2 separate regions of the Homo sapiens genome follow, and region 1 is linked to region 2. Evidence: promoter capture Hi-C in human tissues and cell types (Jung and others, 2019). All regions are on one chromosome and are shown on one strand. Each heading gives the region's core, a stretch centred on a gene start or on the middle of the fragment in contact. The rest is flanking DNA. Distances are from core to core; before and after follow the strand shown.

Region 1 (3,743 bases), core at 422-2,921, 41 kb before region 2:
CAGTTGTGTGTGTGTGTGTATGTATGTATGTGTGTGTGTGTGTGTGTGTGTGTGTGTGAGAGAGAGAGAGAGAGAGAGAGACAGAGAGAGAGAGAGAAAGAGTTAGGAGGTTGATGGAGGGCTAGAAAGCAAAATAACCAGATCAATATTTGGGACAAGTTGAGAGCGAGAAGTAAGGAAAATAGTCTAATACTTTTTTTCTTTCCCAACTTCAATTTGGTGAAGAGTATATAAAATCGTCTTCTAGTTGGTTGGTTGTTGTTCCAAACAAAGAGAGACATGTGGAAATCAATAGACATGGAGAGCCCTAGGTGGAGAAACGCTGACCTGCTGGGTGAAATGCAGAGAGACAGGGGTGTGTGACTTTTCCTCTGAGTGGATCTGCACCCTGGAGTAAGAAAAAAGGTCTTTCTGTTTCAGCTGAACATCTTTTCTTGGGTTTGAAGGTTGCTTTTTTTTTTTTTATAAGTATCATTTTGGACGTTCCAGGCTCCTCTATAACTTTCCCAGAACAAGACTCCATTGTCATGCGGTCAAAACCCTCAAGAAATACTCACTCTTTACATATTATGTATCTCTTTTCTTGCAGGATTCAATCTTCAAATCTTCCCAAGCCATCCTATCCACCCACTTTCTCATCTAATTGTGAGATACTTTCTCAAGAGCAAAACATAGCTTTGAACAGAAAGTGTTAAAGTTGGCTGGTGTCTAGGAAGCATTTATATAGCATATAGTTCACTTCTATTAAAGAGATGACAGTCATCTGATTTTTAAAAGTACGTGTCTGATGTTTCTATGTCAGAATCAAGGTCTTGTTATTTTTTCAAATTTCAATTCTCCTCCCCTGCTTTATTAGCAAAATAGCTAGAAAGGAAGTTGTAGGCTGGCATCATTGTTTGCATTTTAAAAAGGAAGAAAAATTGTCATCCTGAGCAAACTTATTCCTTTCAAAAGTGAAAGTAGTATACCTTAGCCAGCGCACACGATACAACTTGGTACTGGCAAAGTCTCTCTTTTGTTTCATCTAGTGTGTCAAAAGTGAATTTGCCATCAATTTCTCACTCTCAAATAGTTGATTTCTGTTATATGCCTGTTTTAAGTGAATATTAAGTGGGTTTAAGATTTTTTTAATTACAGAAAAGTAAGCTCACTATTCAAATAGTCTAAGAGTGTCTTTTGTTTTCATCCGATCTATCTTCTATTATACCATTTTCCATCTTTTCTCTTTGCTTGATCTACACACACTTGCATTTATCATTTTCATAAAATATTGTTTAGTGTGGGCAGGGTGTGGTGAGATGAAGATTATAAATATCCATCAATCTTCAGTGTTCCATTTGCTCGAAAGAAACATGAAAGCCATGGCATTGCTTTGCCATTCTCCTCGCTCCCTACTGCCTTCTGGCCAGTTTTTCCTTGTAAAAAGGAATGAGTTCTACCTAAGCTAACTGGTTTTGATGCCAAAAGCCTCTGCGTCATATCCTTGAGCGCTGCTCCCACTCTGTGGTCTGATATCCTTGTGGCAATGTCCCAGGTGGATAAAACGTGGCACGACAATTGGCACCAATGAATTACTCTTGGAGTAGCAATTGCTGGATGTGCCTCTTTTGTTGAGGTGATTGGATCTTTTGGCAAAAACCAGTGACTGCAAAGGATGAGAGAAACGATCAGAAAAACTGAAAAGCTGTAGGAGACCAAACACTAGTGTCTCCCCTGCTTCAGGGGACACCCACTGTCAGAGTGAACGACAAAGGTTAGATTTGAACAAGCTTTCTTTCTTTCTTTCTCTTTCTTTCTTTCTTTCTTTCTTTCTTTCTTTCTTTCTTTCTTTCTTTCTTTCTGTTTCTCTTTCTTTTCTTTCCTTTCTTCCTACTTTTTCTTTCTCCTTCTTTCTTTCTCTTTCCTTCCTTCCTTCCTTTCCTTATTCTTTCCTTTTTTTCCTTCTCTTTATTTTTTCTTTATTCTCTATCTTGCTCTTTCTTTCCTTTCTCTGTCTCTGGCTCTTTTTCTTTTTCTCTCTTTTTTCTTTTCTCTCTCTGTGCCGCTCTCTTTTCTCTTTTTTTCTCCTTCCTTCCATCCTTCCTTCCTTCCTTCCTTCCTCCTGTCCTTCCCAGATAAAAAATATTATCTGGTCAAACTGTCCCATCTGTTTGGGACAAAGGAGATCCACTGAGATTTTGTACAAGACGTACATTTTTAAAAAGGAAGGGGGGTAGAGGGCAGGAAATCTTTCCGTTGGTGTCGTTCTGCTGATGTCACCATGGATTCAGTGTTCAAGTCCACAGCCAGGCAAAACTCAAATAAATTTTCCTTTTTGCAAGCAGCTGCACTGTGAGTTCGCCTTCCATTAGTAAAGGGACAATGAAGGGAAGGCGAACCCCGCGTCCAAAACATGGCCAATGAAAGGACACTGGAATGGAAGCCAGGAATCCTGCTGTGGTGGAGAGGCATAGACTCATGAGTCCACCACAATCGGATACTTGCTTCTTTTTAACAGCCCTATCAGCCGAGAGAAATAATGACTCCTGAATCATTTGACAGTAAAAAAGTTAAAATGATGTCTCAATGGCGCTGCATCATGCCAGGTAATCACTGCCCAATTCATTGATTATTCCTTAAACTATTCTTAACCATAGATAGCCTATCTCTTCATCATGCTTAGCAAGTGAGTGGTTTGGTATAAAACATTTGTACAAAAGTATGGGAGTATTCCGAGACTTCACATTCCTATTTGATCATTTTTCTGGTAAAATTGTTCTCAAGGTCCAAGCGTAGCCAGGGGAATTCCAGGAAAGATTTGTGAAATTACTTATTTGCAGAACCTATTTATTATGCGTAGTTCTGGAAATGAAGTAAACATAATGGTTCCCGATGTTTTTCTAGAAATAGTTTTATTTCAGTTTTTGTTTTTCTTTTTACTCTTGTTCTAGTGTTACTTTCAACTTTACAAAAGAGTTGGGTGGCAAAAAAAAAAAAAAAAAAAAACAACTGAAAAACAAGTAAAAATTCTTAACCCATTTTAAAATATTGTAAATGTCTTATTTTCCAGACGCGCGTGGATGATTTGAAGATATTAGCCTAACAAGATGGAAGCAGGTTTAAAATTTTACATAAGAAGTTACCTTTTTCAGGTAATGGTGTTTTTCTGTAATTTTCCCAAACCTTTCGCTTCCTCAAGTATTGCAAATTTTTAGGGCATGCTTGAATGATTTAATTATGAAGAATAACTACATTTTAAACTTAATTTTTTAAAAAAGAAACCAGTTTTATAATTTTCCTAGCCAAGGAGTAGAGCAGGCATGACATTCAACTCTATGGAGTTTGGAAAATTTTTAGAAATTTATTACTGAACAGCACTTGGTTTTTTGGATTTGAAAATTAAGCCATAGAGCTACAACTAAATTCTGTTTTGCCAAACTTCACAGCACCAGCAGGCTCTGAGCAATCATAAGCATTTGAAACTAGCAGGCACTGCCCCTTAACTCTGTCGCTATCTTGGGCATTTGAATGAAAAAATATAAGTATTACAGGATTGGCTCTAAAAAGCCTACCATGTGTTCTGAATTCCTGGAAGATAGAGCTTATATAAATTACATAATAACAATATTGATTTTTTTTTTTACTTTAGTCATAGATTGGCAATACTATATGGCACTTTATGAAACTATTCCCATGCATATATTCAGTGAGTAGGATTTGATCTTAGCTTTCATGATACAGGCAGTTTCCTTTTAGTGTCATTG
Region 2 (3,442 bases), core at 437-2,936:
ATAATAAATTTTAAAAACTGTTAAATTGAATAGATTTGCCACAAAGTACAGAAAATTAGTATTCTATAAACTCAAAGAGAAGAGGCCAAATAGAAATCTGGAAAGCATTCATCAATAAAGAGAGGAAAAAAACATTGCAAAGTTCTTACTATATACCAGATCTTGTGATAATTTATATTCCTTCCCTCATTAATCCCCCAAATAATTGAGCAAAGAAGATATTATGGTCCCCATTTTACAAATAAAGAATCTGATGTTCAGTAAGGTTAAGTACTCTGCCCAAGTTCAGAGTTATTAAGCAGCGGACTTTGGTTTGAAATCTATATTGAATGATCCCATTATCCACATCCTTACTTTTATGCATTCAGTTTTCCACAAGACACTTGATGGAATTTCTTATACTACCTATAAATTTTGCTAGAGTAGAACATTCTGTGTTCCCCCTAATTGAATGTTACAGGCCCCTCTGTAAATTTAGGAAAGTTCCAAAGTGTTCCCTGGATACTTGTTCTGCCTCTAGCATGAAATGTACAAAAGTAGCAGAGAAGATCCAAACCAGACTTTGCTCTCAGAGTAGGCTGCATAACTCCCTCTTGTCTTCTCCACTGGTCTACATCAGTCTTTTGTCTACAACCCTGACTTTTTTAAAAATGGTATTGGATGCTACCATTATGGTTATGGTTAACTGGGGGCATCATTGGTGCCTGAGTTTCTACTCAAATAACATAAGGGAAATCAAGAGACCAAGGCCATGATGACTCAAGCAGTCTCCATGGCTTGGTGGTAAAGGAGTGAATCCTTCCTTACAGCTGATCTTGCCTTTGTATATGTCACATATTGGTCCTGATTAGAAAGGTCTATAGGCTAATTTGTGCAAGACACATTCCTTCTCATTATACCATGATACAGGCCATGTGAAACACCAGATTCAATCTTATAGCCTCTCTGCTGCTGCTAAGTAAGAAACTTCTACTTTTAGTGTCTTTTCTCTCTCAACACAAAAATACTCTGTAAGTCACCCAGATCTGGGTTGCCCATGATTACCAGGCTTTTCCCAATTAGAAATATGACTCATGTTCCATTTTACCAATACATCTCAGGCACAGAACTAGCAAGGAAAGACAAAATTAAAATGTTTCTGTAATTCCAGCCCATCAATTGAAACAAGATGTTTCTGAACTTTTCCCAATGTGAAGAACAAAAAGTAATAGCATTTTGTTTATTTATTTGTGTACAACACTGTGGTCAGGAACTTGTTGCTTCCCCAGGGAAATTGCTTGCAAGCATCACTGAGAAGAGGACTTAACAATTCACACTGATCATTCCCTGTGGTCTGCCATGGCGAGGGTGATACTTTCATGTTTTATAAGCACCAGACAAGAGAGCTGGATCAATTTTCTCTCTCGATATTCTAGTCTCTGTTGAAACGACTCCCTCAGACATCAGCAGCTCCGGGTTCTTTCTAAAAAATAAAGTAAGTACTCTTAGGTCTGTTCACAGTAAGGGACAAGAAGTCCAAAACATATCCCTGCCTTTTACAATTCAGAAATCAACGTGGAGATCTTTCCTACTTTTAGGCAGTACATACAGCTTCGCTGAGGTCTGTGTGTCAAACTTACTGAGAGGAGGACATCGTGGAGACTTATCGTTAATTAGCAATGCTTATGCATGCAAACCTTGGTCAGATGATGTTGTGTTTGGAGAAAAGAGAGAAGAGAATTGAATAAGTACATGACCCCTTGGAAGCTGTTTTCAGTTGAGGATTTTGGTGAGTAGCCACTTGAAATCAAGGGAAATTCCATGAATAGCAGGAGCTGGGAAGAAAGGAAGAGGAGGAAGGATCCCACCACTTTTTTCTTCCCATCTAACACCGTGCTTATGCAAAGCATAGTCCATATGAGATCTGCCTTATAAAAACTTGCTGAATAAAGCGAATGGAAGTTAAATTTTGGACTTTCTTCCATAATAGCTTCAAATTATGGTGACTTTGTTGCCTATAGAGGGCCAGGAAATACATTTCTTTGAGATCCTAGAATCTGAGTGTGTGCTCTACACAGGATGGATAGAGCGAGCCTCTGGCAGTTCCATTTATCCAGAGGCAAAAGCACGCCTGCCACTGGAGGCGCTCTTGGGTTCCAACAAAGAACCTATGTTGCCTAAGGAAACAGTGCTTTCTCTTAAAAGGTACAATCTTGGCTCCTCTGCCATGAAGCGGAATGTTCCTGGACATGTGCTTCAGAGACCTTCCTATTTAACCAGGATACAAGTTACATTGTTATGCAATTCCTCTGCTGAGGCCCTGTAAAAGGAGTGAGTTAGGACAGATGCAGCAAGATATTAGGACAGATTTCGCCCATTATTCAGGCTGCACAACACAGAAGGAAACTTGATTTCAATAAGACCCAATTCTTAACAGTCTTTTCTACCCACTTTTACCCATAACTTTTCCAAATTTGGTTCAAATTGTGCAGAGAAACAATAAAATTTTTAAAAAGGATAAACTGGCTAGTTAAAAGTAAATGGCATTTAATTAAAACAAATCTTGCAAATTCATGAAAAAACAAAAAGCTATGTGATGGTAAACCTTAGGGCAGCGTACAGTGCCACTGTCCTTTGCAGTTTTGAGTGTATTTCATTTGTACATTGGAAGTAGGTACTTGTCATATTATTAACAATTACTCTACTTAGTTGTACACTCAGCATTTGGCATCAGAATAATCTTGTGTAGTCACAGGGTTTTCATTTTCTTTCTGTATTTTTTAAGCATGTTTCTGAGTGGTGGTTCACATAAGCTTTCAATTTTAAATAACACAATCCATTTATTTCACTAGGCGTCTTTATTTGCTTAAAGTGAAGAATCAGAGATTGTCATTGTGTTGTAAATAAGTCTAACCTTTCTTTCCCTTTACAAAAAAAAAAACCTGTGGAACTGAAAGAAATAGAAATTCCAGTAATCTTTTATGAACTCTGTTATTAGAGTGAGTAGAACTAAATCTGTGGGGAAAAAAGGAAAAGGAAATGGAAAAGGTGTTTCAGAGCTTTTACTTTAAGCTATTCTAGTGTCCCCTTCTCTGCTTTCTTTCCACTACCCTGACCCATACCTACCCACAGTGAGAACTGAGCCCGCAGGGCAGCTCAGAAGCTGGGAGGAGAGAAAGAGTGAGAATCTGAGTTATTTTTCCTCAGTGATCTTAAAAGCTCCAGGCAGAAAAGACCCTGCCTATAGAACCTCCCTTTTGCATTTCTCAATTGCATCGGAGAAACTCCTAAATTGCATCAGTGATCCTGAAGCTGTTAAAGTAAAGAATTTTCTGTAGAAGAAAGAAAAGAGAAAGAGAAAGAAAAGGCAAAAACTTAATCATGCCTGGGATCTTTTGAGGTAGAAAAAACTGACAAGAAACAAACTTTCCTTATATTCTAGTGTGTTGGAAAACAGTGGAAG

What was found. Contacts are between HindIII fragments. The study calls those that stand out against the background at their distance.
Region 1: a contact is called between a fragment that was not itself captured here and the fragment with the promoter of BLID in region 2, in 3 of the 25 tissues and cell types used here (aorta, hippocampus and liver).

Annotation. Positions count from the first base shown.
Region 1 is chr11:122,154,939-122,158,681 of GRCh38, reverse strand. It overlaps MIR100HG (mir-100-let-7a-2-mir-125b-1 cluster host gene), which reads left to right. Exons shown (of 5, transcript NR_137179.1): 4 at 3,050-3,131. Among named protein-coding and RNA genes, the nearest start is that of MIR100, 4.5 kb to the right of the region's middle. The HindIII fragment of the contact is 4,853 bases long and covers 1-3,743 here.
Region 2 is chr11:122,114,459-122,117,900 of GRCh38, reverse strand. BLID (BH3-like motif containing, cell death inducer) reads left to right here and starts at 1,686. Exons shown (of 1, transcript NM_001001786.3): 1 at 1,686-2,561. The coding sequence starts at 1,979. The coding sequence ends at 2,305. All of the region lies in intron 4 of MIR100HG (mir-100-let-7a-2-mir-125b-1 cluster host gene), which reads left to right. The HindIII fragment of the contact is 11,140 bases long and covers 1-3,442 here.